Regions from separate parts of the Homo sapiens genome. Here regions 1, 2, 3, 4, 5 and 7 are each linked to region 6. Evidence: promoter capture Hi-C in 16 types of primary human blood cells and fetal thymus (Javierre and others, 2016). All regions are on one chromosome and are shown on one strand. Each heading gives the region's core, a stretch centred on a gene start or on the middle of the fragment in contact. The rest is flanking DNA. Distances are from core to core; before and after follow the strand shown. Region 1 overlaps MARCHF1 (membrane associated ring-CH-type finger 1). Region 2 holds the start of TKTL2 (transketolase like 2). Region 3 overlaps MARCHF1 (membrane associated ring-CH-type finger 1). Region 4 holds the start of TMA16 (translation machinery associated 16 homolog). Region 5 overlaps MARCHF1 (membrane associated ring-CH-type finger 1). Region 6 holds the start of MSMO1 (methylsterol monooxygenase 1). Region 7 overlaps TMA16 (translation machinery associated 16 homolog).

Region 1 (3,136 bases), core at 411-2,910, 1.8 Mb after region 6:
CTCCCAAAAAGGGCAGAGAAAATGGCAACTGTTTCCCCCTGGCTCAGATTCCCAGGTATATTATAGGCTTTGGTCACTGTTTCTGGAAAGAGAGGTGAAACTTGAGTGGACTTTTCTTTAGATTGTCTACCATCTAAAGCATAGCTTTACTGACAGTGAAGAGGGGTTGTAAAAGCTTTCATTTATCCTTGAAATACCTACTGAGCAAGGAACTATGGAAAACAAAGTCCAGCCCAGACAAATTCTGTGCTCGTCAAGATTATAGCATGACACAGTAAAAATGCTTATGTTAGAAAGTGAGCTCATACTGCACACGGAGAAATAACATGGAAGTGTAACAGTGGGAAAACTTATTTCCAGCTGGAAATGACCTCTAAGATGGGTTTTGTGGGACAAGTAGACACATAGAAGCAGGGAAGCAAAACACAGAAAGAAAAAAGATCGGAGACAAAGGCTCAGAAATGGAAAACTTCCAGGCATGTATAAGGAACAGCTGCTAGTTTGGTTAAGCAGAGGAGAAAGCTGGATGTAGTCCATGAGAATTTCCCTAAAAATGGGAAATAAAGCACATTTCATCTCCAGTCTGTCTGTGGTTAAAGCTTTCTAAACACATTGAAACTACTGCTTAATATAAGTTTACAGCAAAAATCCTTTTGAATTTGGAGAACTGCAAGATGTCTTGCTCATATTCCAAATCCTTTCTGCAAATTTCCCAATAAAGAGACGTAAGTTATTGTCTTCCACAGCAGGGATTCTCAACCTCAGCACTATGGACATTATGAACTGAATAATTCTTTGTTGGAAGGTACTGTCCTGTGCATTGTAGGATGTCCAGCAGCATGCCTGGCCTCTAATAAAAGTCAGAAGCACCCCACTCCAGGTACAACAATCAACAATGTCTCTAGACACTGCTAAATGTCCCCCAGAGAACAAAACTGCCCCCAGTGGTGAACCTATGGTCTACACTGAGTCAGTGTTTCAGATGATTGTTCTCCTTGCATAGATGAAGACAGCCAAGTAGGAACTTAAGAAAAAAAAAAAAAAGCCCTTCTATATTCCAAATGCATGGACTCTCTGCATAGAGAATAATTTAGCTCTTTTTATTACTAACTACCGTTTGATGCCACTGTGTTACTTAGCATACAGGAAAAATGGACACAGGCGTCCAGCCATGTATAAATGTGTGCTGCCACTTATCTGGGACTATTAGAATCATCACATACTCCTGATTATTCTTCAGAACTCTTTAAATCACTTATGAAGACTTTGCCTTGGAGTATTTTTTAAATAAAAATAGCAAGTTAACTGCTATTTCCATGCAATACACAAATCAAATTTCAACACTATCAAAGATTACTAGGTCAAGATCATTGGGTAATAAGCTCACCTTTGGCATGAAATAGCAAAAGGGGGAGAAGAAGGGAGAATTGAAATAGATGGTCTTTAAAGGCCTTTGAACTCTGAATTTTTAGTTCAGTTATTTTGCTGGAACACCAGAAAAATCAAGAATAAAACAATTTGTATTGTATCAGCCTGATATTTTCTTTAAAAACTTTTTTATAAGAAAAATGATTCTTTTATATACCCCCCTCAATTTTTTTTCCAAAAATGAATAATATATGCAGGAATACCTAGAATATGTTAAAAGTGTGGAACGTATGTTTCGTTATGAACGATACTGTGAAATCTTTAGATGAGGAACTAGTGCTGTCAAAGTAGAACAACATTTTTTAAAAGTTGCACTAATGGTCAAAAATTATTATTACTACTTTAAAGTATTATATTTGTCTATAAGTTACTTGGGAAATTTATAAATAAGTATAAAGCAATTCATCTCATAATTGTATGTAATTATTTCTGTATTTTTTATCCTAAAATGAAAATGTTTCTGGAGAGTATTGGAATACATGATACAGTACCACTATTACCACTAGATAACAACAGTGCTATTATCGAACACGTGTTCGTTGCAAATGCATTTGTATAAATAAATCAAATCCAAGTAGCATACTTCTATTTTTAAAATTCCTATCCTTAAGATCAAAGAAGTCTATAGGAGAAAGGGACCATGGAAACATTTGTATACGACTAACAGACACTGATTAATGATAAATGCCTGGTATAGTCCATTTTCGTACTCTAAAGTTTCTAAAATCAAAGGTCTGTTTTCTTGACGATTTGTTTTCTAACATCTTTTAGCATCTTCTCTTAAGTAAATATATTGATAATTGAATCTGTTCCTTCAAAGAGTTTAACTCCATGATACACTAATTAATTTTTTTAAATAGCGACTTGGGTAGGGAGAGACATGAAACCGTCAGTCTTTCTCCTAGTTTTATTAAGAAGTTCAGAGTTACTCTATTTTACTCCAAACAACAGCATTTAATTAGTTAACATTAATAGGGTTTCTCCTGGACTACGATGTAGGGAATTTGCAATATTGTGAAAAGGCATCTTCTTCCTCTGGGCCAGATGGCAAAAAGATTTTTTCTCATGCCAACTCCAGAAGTTGACCTAGATTGTGGTGTTAGGAACCATGAAGCTATCATAGGGATTAGCAGGAAAGAGTGTTGGTAGTAATTAGGGCACGAATGCTGTGTTTGCCAACCTCATGACAGATTGCACCTTTTTCTCCCTGGAGTGGGTTCTGAAAGATTAGTAGAAGTTTATTGTAAAGAGCGCGGCACTCTAAACAGAGGAATAGCATGTGCTAAAGCTTAAACCTATATTAGGATGTGCAATGTTTGGAAAACAGCTACCCAGATAGGACTTTGGATAAAGTTTACTAAGAAAGGCACTGGATGAGAGAAATCAGGCAGCTGAGGATGACGATAAAATAAATAGAGGTATAGATCATGAGCATTTATTGTGCAAGACTGCAGCAAATTTTAGGCACAATAAACTCCATTGGGCATGGCTAAAAAGAAATGGAGTGTTTTTGTGCAATAGTTTCCATAAATATATCATGCATACATTACCAATTTCCAAATACCTAAATGCTCACAAACCCATCTCTTACTCGAAGAAATTCTATAAACTGACCTAGACACAGTGATGAATTCATGGAACTAATCTCTCAAGTAAGGAGCTAATATATATAAATATATATATATATATTATATATAAAAGACTATTT
Region 2 (2,846 bases), core at 199-2,698, 1.9 Mb after region 6:
AAGACTAAAATGCTTAAAGAAAATAATTAACAGCTTATATATGTTATTTATATAACATATTAATATAAAATTAATTTTATATAAACTTAATATATATTACATATATTGATATGAGTTTTTATATATAATATATATACTTTTATATATAGTATATCTTTCCAGATATTTTACTATATATATACTTTTATATATTTATATATATATATATATATATATCTTTCCAGAGTTCCTTTTACAAAATCTCAGAATGGTTTATAAGTATTTTACACATAATTTATAAAATATTATTTTCTATATAGTATAAAAAATTCACACGGTCTCACAGAATGATAGAGGGAAATTCACACTCACTATCTAGGGTATTAAATCTCCAAGACTACATTCTTCTCTTAATAAAATTGACCTTTGCTAATGTTAAAATTTTTTTATTTAATACTTTAGGAAATAGCTGTGCAATGTTTTAAATGAGTGAAAGAATGTGGGAACTTGGAAAGAAATGTTAAGAAGTCCCATGTTTTTATTCATGGGAACATTGCCTCATAAATCATTTTTGTACTATCATGTTTACTAATTGTGTGGATTTATTAGAGTTCTTTTTGGCCAAAATAATGGTGAGCTACCTGTGTTTATATTAACTACTTTCCTGTCAGCCTGTAGTAGTTTGCTATTATTTTACTGTGATTATTATTTTTTCTCTAATTCCCATCTTCTGTACTACCAGTTCTAGCCTAGTCTGCTTGTATTTCCTCCTCCTTTATTTGTCTAAAAAGATAAACAAGCTTTAATTTGCAAAGGACATGGAGAGTTATGGATACATGATGACCTCTTAAGAACTTCTCCAATGCCAACATTCCTGCAACAAGTCTTAAAATCAGTAGTGTCATATTATTACTATTTATTCTAATATGTGTCCTTAAAAGTTAAAATGATAGAACTAGTTGAAATAGCAAATAACATTTGAAATATTTTTCTGAGATATAATGCAAGAGATAATAAGTATAAAGAGTAACAACACCCCCTGAGTTAGTTGTTTACAACCCTGACTGAACATTGAAATTGCCTGGGGAAGATTTTAAAATTACTGACGCCTAGATCTATTGCCTAGAAATTCTGATATAATTGGTCTGGAGTGCAGCATGGACATGAGATGTTTTTAAAACTTCCCAGATAATTCTAAACTACAACTAATGTTGAGAACCACTGGTCTCAGACTATCTCCAGATTATGTTATTAACCTTGACTACCCATTATAATCAATGGATGTATTTTAGAAACATAGCTTCCCAGACTCCAGGTCCAGAAATTCAAATTCTATTTTTCTGGGATGGAACCAGGCATTGTGTTTCTTATGTGCCCTAATTTTAACGTGAAGTTAAGGTAAGAATTATTGCTCAAGAAACCAAGAGGTTTAACATCGCAATATGGGAAGGTATGATATATTATCATTGTGTTTTTTTTAATTGTTGTTTTATTGATGACAAACCATAACCTTGGCCTGCTAGAAGAGTTCAATGGCACAAATTTAGTTTTTTTTGTTTTAGACGGAGTCTCGCTCTGTCTCCCAGGCTGGAGTGCAGTGGCACAATCTGGGCTCACTGCAAGCTCCACCTCCCAGGTTCACGCCATTCTCCTGCCTCAGCCTCCCGAGTAGCTGGGACTACAGGTGCCCATCACCACGCCCAGCTAATTTTTTTGTATTTTTAGTAGACACGGGGTTTCACCGTGTTAGCCAGGATGGTCTCGAACTCCTGACCTTGTGATCCGCCTGCCTCGGCCTCCCAAAGTGCTGGGATTACAGGTGTGAGCCACAGCACCCGGCCCACAAATTTAGTTTTTTAAAGTAAGTAACTTTGTCTTAAAAATGATTTGTAGTAATAGTCATTAAAAGATAAACTGAGGCACATTAAAATATTAAAGCATTTATTTGACCATTCAGTGATTCATGAATCTGGTAGCTCCTGATAAAGGAGCCAAGGAGAAGGCTTTTATAGGGTGAATTTGGAAGCAAAGGAAAGATATTTGATTGGTTAAAGTGGAGTACTAGACTTATTTGGGTCATCCCAGTGGAAAGTCCCCAGTTAGAAGTTAGCTGGCAGTTTCTGATTGATTAAGCTTAAATTTCCTTTTTATCATTTACACTGATTTGGGTTTCCTTTCCTTAGGTAGGAACTCATGGAGCTGAAGCTACCTCAGCCTACTGGCCTTCTAATTATTTCAACACAGAAATAGTACTTTACGGCACACTGGAGTTGCAATTCTATTCTGCAATTGGGTGGTTTCAGATTTGTTCTTCCTATAAATTTTGGTCAAATTAGTCATTGCATTTCTTTCTATAAGTCTGAGATTCAGATATTTGGTTGCTCTGAGAAAGTCTCTGTTGAGATAGCATTGCCATACTGGTCAGATTGAAAGTGACTTTGTATCCTTTCTATTAATGTTCTGATATGAAAGAGTGATGACTCGGATATAGTGTTAATGCATTAAAAAAGCACAGCCTGACAAATCGCTTCCTATAATACACAGAAAAATGTCTAGTCTTGAATTTATAACACAGGGAAAGGTAAAAAATTTAATTATGCTTCCTAATGTTGAACATGCACGTGACAAAGTAAATACTAAAAATCCATTCAGCTGGGCGTGGACAGGGAGAGGGAACGGTGCACATCAGAGGGTGCAGGCTACTCCAACGTTTCCGTTTCCTCAGTCTCGCGGGAAGCTCCGTTGTGGGCGCCCCGGCTGGTGGCTGAGCTCAGGCCTTCAGGCAGAGGGGAGGCGAGGGCGGGGCGGTCACGTGAGAGCACTGCCGCGGTGGGTTGTGGGGGTGCTGCGGCGCCGTTTGCTTTGCC
Region 3 (3,093 bases), core at 582-3,081, 1.8 Mb after region 6:
GAACTGAATGAGATTCTTAGTCCCCCTGAAGCTTTCTTTGGTTCAAACCAACTGCTGTCTAATTAGAGGAAAACAGTATTTGGAGATGATAGGATAGGACAGCTTATACAGCAAAATAATTAAACAAAGTTGAATATTGCCATGTAAACACAAATGAGCATTTTACACTTTCTCCCATCACCCAGTAGGATGAGAATCAACATTTGGGATTTCATCCTAAATGCTGTAAATGAGGAAATTTGGCCAGTTGTGGTTGCAAAGTCATTTTTTGATTTCCAAACATACCGAGTCCCTGAACCACAAGTTTCATTTCCCGCCTGTGGAGATTATGTATACCTCCAACCCTTCCCTGCTATCGCTATTAAATCAATTCAAGGGAGAGCAGTTTAAAGCAAGGACTTTAACTTGGAAAATGTCTCCGATTTCTTTGAGAATCCATTGAAAATCATGGACCTTTCCCCAGAAAAAAATAAATGCACACAATATTTTGTATACAATTTAAGAAATTTCTATACCCCAAAAGAATCTTCTCTTTAAAAAAAAAAAAAAATCTTCAGTTTTAGGACAAAATTCTTAAGAAACGCTGAGTCAGTATGGTGCCAAAAACAAATTCAAATGTAATATATTGAGCCAATTAATCATGCTTGATATCAAAGTACTGATAAAATGGATTTTTAGATATAGTAACTAAAACACTATTTTTTAAAGTATTATTATATCCAAAACTGGAACCAATACTTCAAGTTTCACAGGCTCTCATTTAAACTGGAGTAGAATATATGTACAAATATATATTCTGTTTTATTTATATATAAATCGTATATATATGATTTATTTCAAGTGTATATGTGGCTAAGAGACTCTCGAGAGTAAAAAAAAAAATCAACTCAATTACATTAAATACAATGTTCAGATGTGACACTGCTATTAAAGAGTGCAAATAGGATGTAAGAATTTTTTTGACCCATGAGAATAAGCATCAACAATGGATTGTCAGTAGATGAGCTTACTGTGGGTAGATACAAATAGACGGTTCCAAAAAGATTCTCTTTTTATTTGCTGCCACCCAAAGGAATATTCTAGAAAGACATTTCTAAACATACACAACAGAATTGAGAAAGGGATAGAAGCACTTATGAAATCAAAACCTATTATCTCTTATTGATGGAAAATTACACAGTTCCCTATTTTAACAACTACACAAAATTCCACAATTGGGACCCTAATATAAGCTTCATCAAAGCAGAAATCTTGGCTGTCTTCTTCCCTAGCATCCTACAACAATGTCCGATACATTGTGATGCTTTAATAATTAGCTCCTGAACGAAAAAAAATCTAATAATGTCATCTAATAATGACTGGGTAAGTCAACTCAGTGCTCTGGGCCTCAGTTTCTTCAACTAGAAAATGATGGGGTAAAATTGGGTATTTTTAAAAGCTTTTCTCTTTTAATCTTCCCAGTGTCTGTGCTTCTGCTTAGTACACGAGCACTGTCTCCTAAACGGCAAGGCTATGATCACTTAGGCACAGAGAGTGACCACAGACCTGTGCAGATTCCACGTGTGCCATAGCTGTTCACTGAAGAGGTAAGAGGCGAAGAGCCCACAACAGAAATGGGCTTCCAGGGAAAACATCATCAATGGCAGTGTCATCCAAGAGTCCGCTCGGCAAGGGTTTCAACCTCTGGGGAAGAGAGACTATGCCACTGTGAAATGTAACCCAATTATTCCTTTTGTTTTCTTTATGAAGCCACAATCCATAATTAAGTATCCTCATGGACACAGCTCAGTAGATTTTCTGCTGGTTCAACATGCCTGAAGCAGTAATATACTGACTTCTCTTTCAGAATGTGTGATAAAATATCTTTCACCATAACCTCCGAGAGAAAACAGACAACCAAGTATTGATTCAATATTTTTAAAGGAACTTTGTTTAAATGCATCTATTAATTAAACTTTCAAGTAATTTGTGTTCTTACATGGTGATATTAATCAACTCAGATTTAGGTGAGTTTTTTGGGGGGATATGGAAGGAGGTGAAAGTATATTCACTCTGTGAAAAACCGTCAGATATTACAATGCCACTCTAAAATATGTCCCTGAACTTTTCCTTCCTTAGGGAAGTAATTGTCAAAGTTCAGCATATATAAAAATCTCTCGGAGTGCCTGCCAGGAATGCAGATTCCTAGGCCACACCCCCAGATATAAATCTGGAACAAAGCTTAGGAATTTGCAATTTTAACTTTTATCCCAACAGTTCCACTGCAAATGTGCCTAAATCCCACATATTATATCTACCCTCAGGACAGATATACAAACATTTTTCCATTTCTCTTTTTTCCATTCATATCATCATTATGCGTGATATCATTACTCCCTCTAGTGGATGATTTTACTCAGCACCTTTTTTTCTATATTACAAATATCTTGCTTAAAACTTTTAGGAAATCCCATCTGTCATGAAAATCTTGAAAGAAACCAGTGAGAGATCAAGACAAGGTTTATAAGAAAAATTATTTTGGTAATCTAACATTGGGCTCATATATATTTACATATGCATGTAATAAGTAATGTGCATATATTTTGTAGAGAAATTCTTAATCATCATTTAGTTGACTGAACATAAAATGGCTTATCTGTTTTATAAAAATAATTTGGTAGCTTTGAATTTACTGGTCACACTATTTTTAGAATATTTATGCCTGGTTTACTTCCCTGTTTACTATGTGCTAACTAGATTATCTCATATAATTCCAGCAAACTCTATACAAGAGACACTGTTGTCATCCTGATTTTACCAATGAGAAAACTGAGGCATTAGGAGGTTAGGTTACTTGACCCAAGCCAGACAGGGGTCTCTGACCCAAGTCTCCCTAACCCAGGAGTCTGAGTTCTTAGTTGCTTCGCTCCAAGCCTCTCTGACCATGTGGCTTCTAGCCTGTTCGACCTAACTACCACATTGTACTCCTCTCCCTCCACACCACCCCAGGCCTCCTGCTCCTACCCCAGCTCTCTCTGCTCTCCATTGTTCTTTCCAACACCTTCTATGTTCCCTTGGCCTCTGACTCTACTAATACCTTTGCATTTGGACAAT
Region 4 (2,764 bases), core at 122-2,621, 1.8 Mb after region 6:
CTTCTACTATACAGCCTGATAAAAAGTGAAGCTCTGATAGTCAAGGACAACTACAGTCAAATACCAATCTATCTCCCCAATCACTCAAACACAATGAGATGTAATTGCTTTCATATTCCACTCTGAAAAGGGGAAAAAAACTAACACTATAAAGAGTTGGAAATCCCACAAGCAAAGTGACAAGCAAACACTGAATTTACACAAATGTGTACAATCTAAAGTACAAAATATGCGTCAGCAGTGGATCAAAATAAAGCACAAAAAACTCGCGAAACAACGAAAGAACCAGACTGTAAGACAAAAATGGCATACAATGAAAAGAGAAAAAAATGAAAAGAAACAAAGAGGCCACATTGTGGACACAATATCGTAACTTCTGACCAGATTATAAACTTTTAAAATTTTGCTTTTATTAAAAATTAATTGAAAAAAATTTATAAAGCATGTTTCTATGCAAGAATTACTCTCAAGAACACAACGATTACGTAAAAAATAGGCAAGAAACAACATACTGTTTCAAAATACAAATATATGTAGTAACTATAAAGAAAAGTAGTGAAATTATAAATACAAAACTTAGATAATGTTTGCTTCTTAAGGTTTCCTGAAAGTTCAAAGAAGGTAACACAGGGCTTTCAAAGGCTATGTTTTATTTCTTAAAACTACAAAATGGGTAAACGAGAATTCCTGAAACTGTTCATCTTTACACTTGAAATGTGCTTTAGTAACACTCTTTTGTATCTACTCAGTTTTTAATAAAAACAACAAAACTGCTTCAGTGCCCTGGAGCGAATGGGGGCGTAACGGCAGGATTCAGGGCACTAACGAGAGGTGAACGGACGCCGAGGAAGAGGCGACTAAGCCCACATACTGAGTCTACCCAGGCCAGAGAGGCAGAGGTGTGTAGGGCCAGCGATCTCAGAAGTTTTGCCAAACTCCTCGATGCGTTACAATGGAAAGGTGCCGGGTTTCCCCCAGGAAGTAGTGACTAGCGAGAAGTTAGGCACAAGGCAAAGAGGAGCAAGGCGACGTGTGAGCACTTCAGCACTCGGACGCGGAACTCTAAGGTCCAGGCGTTGGGCCTGGGACTCGCCTCCCAGAGGCTTCGCCCCGCACCCCGCACACTCCCTGAAAATAAACACTTTGCATCCTCCCCTCTCCTAGGTTCCCGAAACCGCACCCTCCCTCTCTGCCTGCTCAACAAGAGCCTTCCGGGGAACCAACCGAGCGGTTCGGGGGAGCAGGAGGGGGCCCACCATGGTGACGTCCTCGTGGCCACGGAGCAGCTCCGCACTCTAGACCCAGGTAATCTCACCAACCGCAGGAGCAGCAGCTCACAAGAGCACCCGGGCCGAATCCCACGTGGCGCCTGAGAAGCCCGCGCCGACCCAACCGGAACAGGAGAGGCGAGTGCGTTTCTCTAAAGCGTCCCCGTTAACTGAGACCGCGTCTTTTTCGCCCGTGTTGGGCTTTTAAGCTCTAGCCCAACGGACAGCCAGACCTGCGTGCTCGCCGGGAGCGGCGGAAGGGAGCTTGCGGCGGGAGGCTGAACTCTGCCTGGTGCTGAGTGCGAGGCTGGGGATTGGAGCCCGGGTGGAGACGCTACACGCTTCCGGCCCCAAGAGCGGAGCTTGCCCATCTGTCCCAGAGCACGACTCCAGAGCGCAGCAACCTCTTCAGACAAGAGGTTCCCTCTTGCGGGCTCCCGCATCTCAGGGGCTGGGACCCTCTCAAAAGGGCCGCTCGGTGTTGGCTCCCCGGAGCTCTTGCACGGCACAGGCTCCTGCCCTCCGCTTTTCCACGTACTAGATTACCTTGGGCAAGTCCTTTCCTGCACTGAGTCTTTTTTTGCCCTGCCCTGCCCTGCCCTGCCCTGCCCCGCCCCGCCCCTCTTCTCTTTCCTTTCTTTTCTTTTCTTCTTTCCCTCTTTCCCGCCTTCCCTCATTCCCTCTTTCTTTCTTCCTCCCGGGTTCAAGCGATTCTCCTGCCTCAGCCTCCCGAACAGCTGGAATTACAGGCCTCCGCCACCACGCCCGGCTAATTTTTTTTTTTTTTTTTTTTTTTTGTATTTTTAGTAGAGACGGGGTTTCGCCGTGTTGGCCAGGCTGGTCTCGAACTCCTGATCTCAGGTGATCCGTCCGCCTCGGCCTCCCAAAGTGCTGAGATTACAGGCCTGAGCCACCACGCCCGGCCGAGTCTTAGTTTCTTTATCCGGAAAGGCCACTTCCTCATATTCAAGGCCTCTGCCAACCCAGTTTTTGTTTTCTTCTCACAGCATGTGAGAGTCTTTGTTTCACCCATACATGTTAGAATTCCGTAGACAATGTAATCATTCAAAAACTATTTATTGAATGCCTACTGTGTGCCTGGTACTGGGGATACTCCAACAATATCCCTCACTCAGCTCATTTTCCAGGGGATGGAGGCATGTAAAAATATTATTTCAAATAATATAAGTACTCTAATAAAAATTAGCTGGCGGGGGCATGTAGAAAAGCTGTTTTACACATGGTGGTCTCTATAAAGTCCTCTTTTAGAAGTGATAATTGAGCAGAGACCGGAATTGTAAGAGAAAACTAGGCATGGGAAGAAGCTCCAGGCAGGGTGAAGCTGGTGTGCCTTGATATGTGTGTGCAGCTGTTAACAGTTGAGGGTAGTTGGCTAGGTCCTTGGCGTTTTGAACAAATAATTGGACAAAACACACAAATAAAGCAAGGCAGCGAAAGCAGAGATTTATTTTAAATGAAAGTACACTACTCCACTG
Region 5 (2,717 bases), core at 131-2,630, 1.7 Mb after region 6:
ACTGAGCTCAAGCAGTCCTTCTGCCTTGGCCTCCCAAAGTGCTGAGTTTACAGGCATGAGCCACTCACTGGCTTATACCATATTTTCTTTCTCTATTGATAAGTTGATGGACATTTAGGTTGTTTCCGTAGCTTCACTCTCAAACTGAGCTCAAGCAGTCCTCCCGCCTTGGCCTCCCAAAGTGCTGAGTTTACAGGCATGAGCCACTCGCTGGCTTATACCATATTTTCTTTCTCTATTGATAAGTTGATGGACATTTAGGTTGTTTCCGTAGCTTCACTCTTGTCAATAATGCTGCAATGAACATGGGAGTTCAGATACCTATCTGAGGTCCTGATTTCAATTCTTCTGGATACTTAGACGTGGGATTGCTCGCTCATATGGTATTTCTATTTTTAATTCTTTGAAAAACCTCCACACTGTTTTCCATAGCAGCTGCACCGTTTTTATTCCTAACAGCGTACAAGGGCTCCAACTTCTTCACATCCTCAGGAGCATTTATCTTGTTTGGGTTTGGGTGTGTGTGTGTGTGTGTGTGTGTGTGTTTGTGTTTTGATAATAGCCATTCTGATGGGTGCGAGGTGACATTTCACTGTGACTCTGATTTGCATTTCCCTGATGATTAGTGATTTTGAACACCTTTCTATATAGCTGTTGACCATTTGTATGTCTTCTTTGGAGAAATGTCTTTTTAGCTCCTTTGCTCATTTTTTAATGTAATCTTAATTTTTTATTTAAATTATGTAGTGGGTTCCTACTCAACTAAATACAATTAAAGTTAGTTTGTGTGTGTGTTTGTGTGTGTGTGTGTATTGGCACTGGTTGAGGGAAATACCAGGCTCTGTGTAATCTTTATTTTTCAGCATGATATCTCCCTACTAAAGTAATTAATTGTATTATTATATCATATAATAATAATGTGGTATTATTGTATATACTAAATAAATATACTAAATATATACTAAATATTGTATTTAGTTGGAGTAAGAACTTTCATGCTCTTTTCATACTTGGCCACATAATGTTACCAAATTACCCAGTCAATCCTACTTCTAAGCATTGACTGAAAACATCTTCTATGCCTAGTATATTCTACCAACATCCTTCTCCATCTGCCATAATTCTACCCCAGCTTCAATTCCAATTCCCATGCCACATCTTCCATTAAACTTTCTACCCTCCCCCGGTCCCCAATCTGAGATGATCTTTCACTCCTTTGCATACAACAGCACTTGACATGGCACACATCCCATTTTAAATGTATCCTGTCTAATTTTGCAGTTGTCTGATGCATAAACTGTCAATATAAACTTCTTAAAGGAAAAAGACTGAGACTAATTCATCTTTATATTTACCATAGGACCTTATAAAACCTTGCATATATACATAAGCAACAAATTACTTGTTGACTGAATGAATGAATGAATGAGTGAATAAATGAATAAAAGTTGATCATTCTTCACTCAATGTGGTTGGAACTGCTGTAAAACATCAGTATTTTGTACTTACTTGCCTTTGTAGAAGAATTCATATGCAAAGGCGTATTTCTAATTCAATGCATTTTTGGTTATCTGTAAATAAAGTGCCTGCTTTGTCAATTATCCATGGCAACTTGAGACTTTCTTTGATGTAATGCTCAGCCAGATAAGATTAATGAGTGGACAAAATTGGAAGGAAGTCATGGTTGAGGATGAGCTTAGAAAAATTCAAACACCTAGCCATCACAAAAAAAAGATCAGAAAATCAGTTTGAATTAAGAATTTCTGCCACATGCAGAAATGAAAAAGGCTAAAAGGTTATAACTGCATAATTTTTCTGATAGCTGTTATTATGTATATACAAAAGCCTTCTCCTGTATCTGACCATATATATTTCTTTGATTATAGCTACATATTAAAGCCAAATGAGTTTTTATTATCTGTCCCTTTGTTTTGCCTTTTTACTTCAATGTATGCAGCTAACAAAAATTTAGCCTAATAACTGTAAGCACATTTGCTTAGAAATATCTCTAGTTTAATTTTGTCAGTCTTACAAATGCACCCAAAAAGACCTCAAAGCTGATATAAAATGAATATTTATGACATATGCAAATGTAGAGAAAATCATAACCTTCGGATATTCGTTCAATATATATTATCTATTTACTTATCCACAAGTCATCAAAATTGTAAGGTAGGATCTGGAAAGATAAATGGCACTGGGGAACTCATTTCCTTTATGCAGAAATACATGGTCCTCTGAGCTAACCAATGAGTATAGAGAGGGCAGTAAAGCGATGGTTAACAGGGAAGGGATTATCCTAAAAGATGCAATCCAGCTTTTGATTTCTCCTGATTTGGAGGATTTGGACAGTCTGAGCTGATCTTAAGATTGCTAGATATACTGACTGGGACTCCTAGGGGCTACACACATCAATAGAGGGAATGGGGGAATCTTAATGTGTTTCAAGAGCCCATGGAGACCTCTCAGATAGTCTTCAAAGAGGCTCCGGCCCACTATGAGACTGAACCACTAGGCTAGATGATAATAGAATCTCAGTGGGAATCCTCAGTCCCAAGCAGAATTTAAAGTCCTAGTATCAATGGCATCGAACCATCTCCAGAGGGGATGAGACACCCAAGAGAAGCAATTCCAATAGAATCTTCCCAATCCATTGCAGAATTCAATGTCTGTGAATTCAAATAAGACTTGGCCTCCTCTGCTTTCATTATTGACCA
Region 6 (2,764 bases), core at 233-2,732:
TGCCTTCCTTACTCCCTTCTAACGATTCCAGATTGTCTTGGGTGATCTTAACTATTTTCTGTTTTAAAAATATGCTGACATCCATCATCTCTATCTCTAGCCCTCTCCCCTAAACTCCAGGATCTAATTATCCAAGTTTACTGGTCATATCCAGTCAGAGAGTTCAGAGGCACATGAACTCACTCAACAGGTCCAAAGGTTCAGTATGTGCTCCTCACAACCCCCGCCCAAATACTAGGCCTCCTTTAATGCCTAATTCTCAGACATAACGTTTTAAGTCTCTCCCATTCTGCTGCCTTAAGTCTTCAAACTCTTACCCAATTTAGAAACACTTGGTTTAGTTAACATTCAGGAATTTACTTTTCACAAAGGAGCGAGGGAATGGATATACTGTTGCTAACCGAACAAGGAATTAAAGAGGAGAGGGGAAACAAGGTCTTGGAAAATTGAATTTCCTTTTCCTTTACTCATTCTTGGGCAACCTAAATGACTGGAAGCCTGTTCTGGAACAGGTTGACTAGATAAATTTAGTTATTTGTGGATTCTCAGAAACCTTGAAGTTTAGCTGTCAGCCAGTCTCTGTCCTTTGGCACTTTAACACGGATTTCACCAGCTCCTTCATTTTCTGGACTTGCCCTGCCTCCAAGCTTGCCCTTCCTAAACCTTATTTCTAAGATGCAATGCCACGATCTATATAAATTTAAACATCAGAGATAACCTCCTTAAAACACTCAAAGTTCAAGGGAGTGCTTGCCCTAAGCATAAAGATCAAGCCCCGCTGTGATTGATGCACACGAGGCCCTTCCAGACTTCTTCACTCTTCATTTCTTACATTCTCGCCATCCTACACTTCACATTTTTGCAGTATCTGATCACTCATGGTTGCTACTGCTTCATTCCTCTCTGCCCACGGAAATATCGTTCCCTTACAGGTGATGTCCTCCCATTCAACTCCTAGTCATCCTTCAGTAACCTCCTCTCGGACGCCCTTCCCAACCCCACTACTCCCAAAGCACACTACATCTTACCTCCTTCTAGTGGTTCCTGCTTTTGTATAACTTTCGCCAGCCTATCACCCTGTGCTGCAACTATCTTCTACGTCCTGTCTCCCGAAGACAACACATTTTAAAGGGCAAGAAACATGCCCTAGCCTAGTTCCATCACTTAAGAATTTCACTCCGTTTTCATCCTTTCTAGCACGTACCTTAGCCTAGGCCCACCTTCACTCCAGTCTCCTTCCGCCCCGTCTCGGGTACCACTGCCAGCGTCCCGCCCAGCGCGTGCATCCGCACCCAGAACCCGCTCCCCTCGATCTCACGGAGCACCGGGTGGGAGCCCGCCTGCTCCCCCTTCCTCGCTCATGAGCCACTCCTCCAACCCCCTCACCTGAACGGCCGCGAGATGACTGCCGGCCACCGACACCGAGGACTCGCCAGGTGTTCCAACCTCGGAACCTGCCTCGCCTGGCTTGGGGGTGGAGCCGGGTGGGCCAGGCGGCCCGTCCTGTCGTTATTGGCCTGCGAGAGCTCCCGCCCCGCCTTCTCGGCGCGGTGATTGGTCTGTGCAGTTGCCGACATCGTGTGACTCGCGCGAACGAGCTCCTGGCGGTCCCAGCCATTGGCTCCGCGGATGGAGTGAGGATAGTGAGACCTGCAGAGCCAGCCAATGGTCGGCACCGCGGAGCGCCCGGAGGCGGGGAAGCGTGAGAGCGCGCCACGGCGTGAGGGGGCGGGCACAGACGGATGGCCGCCTCGCCCTGCAGCGCGGAGTCGCCTTGGCAACTGCGGTCCCGGCAGATTCCCAGTGAGAGCCTGCGCTGTGCGGGGGAGAGTGTCGCGCCGGCCGCCGTCCCAGGACTTTTATTTCAAATGTGACCTGTGTAGCAACCGCAGTTCCCAAACCCGGGAAGAAGAGAGTATAGATGAGTCTTAAAATCTATGTTGACTGTTTTGTGTTTCCAGACACCCTTGCCTTCCTTTTTCTGGTCTACCATTTAGATTTAGATCTTTCGTCTCCCTTGTTTCCCCAGCCTACGTATCCTTTAATAAATTCCTGCATTTTGAAAACGGAGAATTTCAAATGCGATTATCGTCATTTTGCAGATGAGAAATAAAGGCTGGGAAAGATTTAAAAAGATTGAACATCAAGGGAGAGTTCGGCTCCCAGGACCTTGACCTCGCTACATGGGCAGAGAACGCCCAGGTGTTGTTGCAATTGTTGTGCTGGACGATGAGTGCCCGGGGGCGGGGGCGGGGGCGGGGGCTTGACGCAGGTCTTTGCAGCTCTAAAGCTCAGTTTACACCATCTCTCAACATTAAAATATTGTGTACTGGGGTTTAATAATAAAACTGTACAGATGTGATAATATACTAAAACTTTCACTTAACGGAAGAGGTGCCTTTAAAGAAAAAACCGCACAGGGGCATCATTTGGGCTAGTGAAGGCCCTTTTTCCTCCTTCTTTATTAAGGTATAATTGACAAAAATTGTGTTTACGGCGTACACATGTTTTGATTATGTGTATATTGTGTCAAATATATACAGCTTCTGAAAACAGAATACTATTGTTTCATTCCTCCATGCTTTTGCTCAAACTGGCCCTTCTGCCTGGAATAATCAGCCATCTCCATGCCGCCCCATCAATTCAGGTACTATCTCCTTGAGGAAGTTCCCTCTTGAAAAGTGTCTTTTTTAGATTCAGTGTGACCTGTACTTATTCGTCTATCCCTCATGTTTGGCACACACATTCTTTGTAAAGTATCATG
Region 7 (2,728 bases), core at 212-2,711, 1.8 Mb after region 6:
TCAAAAGTATAGACAATGACTGGATTTAAATTTACCTAATTTCAATTAACATTAAATATAAGACCCCTCAACATGGTCTAGTTAAGACCAAAATGATTAATAAAAATCTATGTTTAAAAACTAAAAAACTGCTTGTTGATTCATTTGTTTCTTATAGATTCCAGATATTAGGCCTTTGTTGAATACAAACAATTTGAGAATATTTTCTCCCATTCTATAGGTTGTCTATTTATTCCCTTGACAGTTTATCCTGCTGTGCAGAAATTAGGTCCCATTTGTCAATCTTCGTTTTTACTGCAATTGCTTGAGGACTTAGCCATAAATTTTTTGTCAAGGCTGCTATCAAGAAGGGTATTTACTAGGTTTTCTTCTAGGATTTTTACAGATTATCCTAAGTGAACTAACACAGAAACACAAAACCAAATACTACATGTTCTCACTTATAAGTAGGAGCTAAACATTGGGTACACAAGGTCATAAACAAGGGAACAATAGACACTGGGTAATACAAGTTGGGGGAAGGAAAGGGGTAAGAGCTAAAAACACCACGTACTGGGTGCTATGCTCACTACCTGGGTAGATTCATTCTTACTCCAATCCTCAACATTACACAGTACACCTTTGTAATAAACCTACTCATGTACCTCTGAATTTAAAATCAAAGTTGAAAAAAGAAAAAAAAAAAACCTAAAAAATCGAAATCCTACTCGGTAGTTTCCCAGTTTACAAAAGAGTACAACTAGAAACCACTGGACAAAGCGGGTCTTGATGACTTAACCTGTTCCCTGGAGTCATTCCTATAACCATCTTCTCTGCAAAAGAGGCTGCTACAGAACAGCCTGGGGATATGACTCTGAGCCATCACGTCTGTTGCTGTTACTTCTTTTTTAAAAAAATAAAACTGGGGAGGAATAGTGAGATCACATACTTTGAGGTACTATAACAATGTATCTTAAACCATTTTGAAAAACAAAAAGCACACCAGGTTACCATCCTGTTGGTGCAGATCAACTGTTTGTACGCCCAACTTCAGAAAATTCTTACTTGGTCAGATAAAAAAGAAAAGGTTAAAAGAAACCCGATTTTCTTTTAGTTCTACCGGCTAGACTCAAAGGGGAAGAAAGTTCACCTGTCAGGTACTTTACACACAGCTTCAGGGGAACAATACAAGACAGACTCACCTAAATGTTTTCAGATTACTTGCATTTAGAATGTCTGGAATCTCTGGAAAAGAAAGTAATTTATCTCCATGAGGCAATGTTTTCTAAATCACATAATTTTATGTACAACAAATAATAATTTTTAGCAAGAATATCCAACAGAAAACAAAATTTCGAAGTATTGCTGTAATTAACATGAAAAATTTGCAAAAGGGGTTAGTTTAAGATGACTTAAGAAAAATCCTATTAAATGATAAATTCTAGCATAGAATCCATGAAATAAAACAAAGCTATTAGGCCAGGCGCGGTGGCTCATGCCTGTAATCCCAGCACTTTGGAAGGCTGAGGCAGGTGGATCAGGAGGTCAGGAGATCAAGACCATCCTGGCTAACAAGGTGAAACCCCATCTCTACTGAAAATACAAAAATTAGCCGGGCGTGGTGACGGGCACCTGTAGTCCCAGCTACTCGGGAGGCTGAGGCAGGAGAAAAAAAACAAAACAAAACCAAAGCTATTAACAAAATAAACCCTGTCCTTTTTTAACAATAAAAGGTACCTGGCAAAGTATAACTGTCAATTCACTAAAATAACATGCCAGGTTGTATATTTTTTCTTCGTGAAAAGTACAATGTTTTCAAACGTATAATCTGCCTTCACAAGGTAGAATTTATCTCAGGAATGCAAGAATTAATGTTTAAAAAAATCACATTTTTCCAAATGTGAAAAAAAGACTTTTTTAAATTAAAAAAAAAATTTTGCTTAAAGAAGTTCAATAAAACTTAAATCCATTTTTAATAAAAACCAGGTATATGGTAGTTCTTTACCATATTTCAAAAGTTCCATCATAAACCAATATGCATGATACACTTAAATTGGTGAAATACAAGAGGCATGAACAACAAAAACTGGAAGGCTGCTGCCAATATCTGGCCAATTCAATACAATGTTAAATGAAATTTAGTATCAAGTAATAAAGAAGATAAAATAAGCATGTTTGCTACAACTGTCTATTGACTTTTTCAATAGTTTCAGAGAATAACAGTATGAGGGGCTAGGTGTTAAAAAGTATAAATAAGCACAAAAACAATTTGTAAAGGAATCTTAATGAATCAGAAATAGTTACACCACATAAGGAGGGGAGAGGGGATGGTTCTATCTAGTCTTCTCAAAATCTTATCAAAACAGAATTTGGTGACAATTTCCCCAAAGGGAAACGGACACCTGCAAACTCATCAGAGTCTGTTCATCAGACCCATCCCCTGATTCTGGGAAAAGCACTGCAGCACAGCAGATCTGAGTTTTAGTCCTAGCTGTATCACCAACAAATGGTTTACTTTGGATGTGCTCTGATAAATACTGCCAACTCATCTGGCTGCTACATGTTGAACAGACTTTAGCAGGAAAGAGTGGAGGTACAGAGAGCAACTGGGAGGCTATTACCATAGTACAGGTGAGACGATAGTGGCCTGAACCAGGGAAGTGGGAGATGGTAGTAGTAGTAGTCAAAGTCATCAGATTCTAAACGCTTTGCTGACGGGTTGGATGTGGACTATGAAAGTGACTGTAGA

What was found. The method cuts DNA at HindIII sites, captures the fragments that hold promoters and counts their contacts. A CHiCAGO score of 5 or more calls a contact.
Region 1: a fragment that was not itself captured here is called in contact with the fragment with the promoter of MSMO1 in region 6 in 5 of 17 cell types (total B cells, total CD4 T cells, naive CD4 T cells and 2 more); the score reaches 8.8 in total B cells.
Region 2: a fragment that was not itself captured here is called in contact with the fragment with the promoter of MSMO1 in region 6 in 4 of 17 cell types (monocytes, total B cells, naive CD8 T cells and 1 more); the score reaches 9.3 in monocytes.
Region 3: a contact is called between a fragment that was not itself captured here and the fragment with the promoter of MSMO1 in region 6, in 12 of 17 cell types (non-activated CD4 T cells, total CD4 T cells, fetal thymus and 9 more). The highest score is 22.4, in non-activated CD4 T cells.
Region 4: a contact is called between the fragment with the promoter of TMA16 here and the fragment with the promoter of MSMO1 in region 6, in 3 of 17 cell types (naive CD4 T cells, total CD8 T cells and total B cells). The highest score is 5.5, in naive CD4 T cells.
Region 5: a contact is called between a fragment that was not itself captured here and the fragment with the promoter of MSMO1 in region 6, in 7 of 17 cell types (M0 macrophages, total B cells, naive B cells and 4 more). The highest score is 20.7, in M0 macrophages.
Region 7: a fragment that was not itself captured here is called in contact with the fragment with the promoter of MSMO1 in region 6 in 6 of 17 cell types (total B cells, total CD4 T cells, naive CD8 T cells and 3 more); the score reaches 8.8 in total B cells.

What each region holds. Positions count from the first base shown.
Region 1 is chr4:163,533,662-163,536,797 of GRCh38, reverse strand. The region is part of intron 9 of MARCHF1 (membrane associated ring-CH-type finger 1); the gene reads left to right. Among named protein-coding and RNA genes, the nearest start is that of TMA16, 41 kb to the right of the region's middle. The HindIII fragment of the contact is 2,117 bases long and covers 602-2,718 here.
Region 2 is chr4:163,473,752-163,476,597 of GRCh38, reverse strand. It overlaps TKTL2 (transketolase like 2), which reads left to right and starts at 2,844. Exons shown (of 1, transcript NM_032136.5): 1 at 2,844-2,846. The HindIII fragment of the contact is 1,333 bases long and covers 782-2,114 here.
Region 3 is chr4:163,554,342-163,557,434 of GRCh38, reverse strand. The region is part of intron 8 of MARCHF1 (membrane associated ring-CH-type finger 1); the gene reads left to right. Among named protein-coding and RNA genes, the nearest start is that of TMA16, 61 kb to the right of the region's middle. The HindIII fragment of the contact is 782 bases long and covers 1,441-2,222 here.
Region 4 is chr4:163,493,297-163,496,060 of GRCh38, reverse strand. TMA16 (translation machinery associated 16 homolog) reads right to left here and starts at 1,371. Exons shown (of 7, transcript NM_018352.3): 1 at 1,257-1,371. The coding sequence starts at 1,259. LOC124900805 (a long non-coding RNA gene) reads left to right here and starts at 837. Exons shown (of 2, transcript XR_007058354.1): 1 at 837-899; 2 at 1,165-2,764. RefSeq lists enhancers at 795-944, 975-1,114, 578-1,480 and a cis regulatory region at 2,762-2,764. The HindIII fragment of the contact is 17,381 bases long and covers 1-2,764 here.
Region 5 is chr4:163,592,588-163,595,304 of GRCh38, reverse strand. All of the region lies in intron 7 of MARCHF1 (membrane associated ring-CH-type finger 1), which reads left to right. Among named protein-coding and RNA genes, the nearest start is that of TMA16, 99 kb to the right of the region's middle. The HindIII fragment of the contact is 4,571 bases long and covers 1-2,717 here.
Region 6 is chr4:165,326,387-165,329,150 of GRCh38, reverse strand. It overlaps MSMO1 (methylsterol monooxygenase 1), which reads right to left and starts at 1,482. Exons shown (of 6, transcript NM_006745.5): 1 at 1,387-1,482. RefSeq lists an enhancer at 1,184-1,453 and a silencer at 1,544-1,883. The HindIII fragment of the contact is 2,277 bases long and covers 650-2,764 here.
Region 7 is chr4:163,515,930-163,518,657 of GRCh38, reverse strand. TMA16 (translation machinery associated 16 homolog) reads right to left here. Exons shown (of 7, transcript NM_018352.3): 6 at 1,182-1,224. Among named protein-coding and RNA genes, the nearest start is that of TMA16, 23 kb to the right of the region's middle. The HindIII fragment of the contact is 9,289 bases long and covers 1-2,728 here.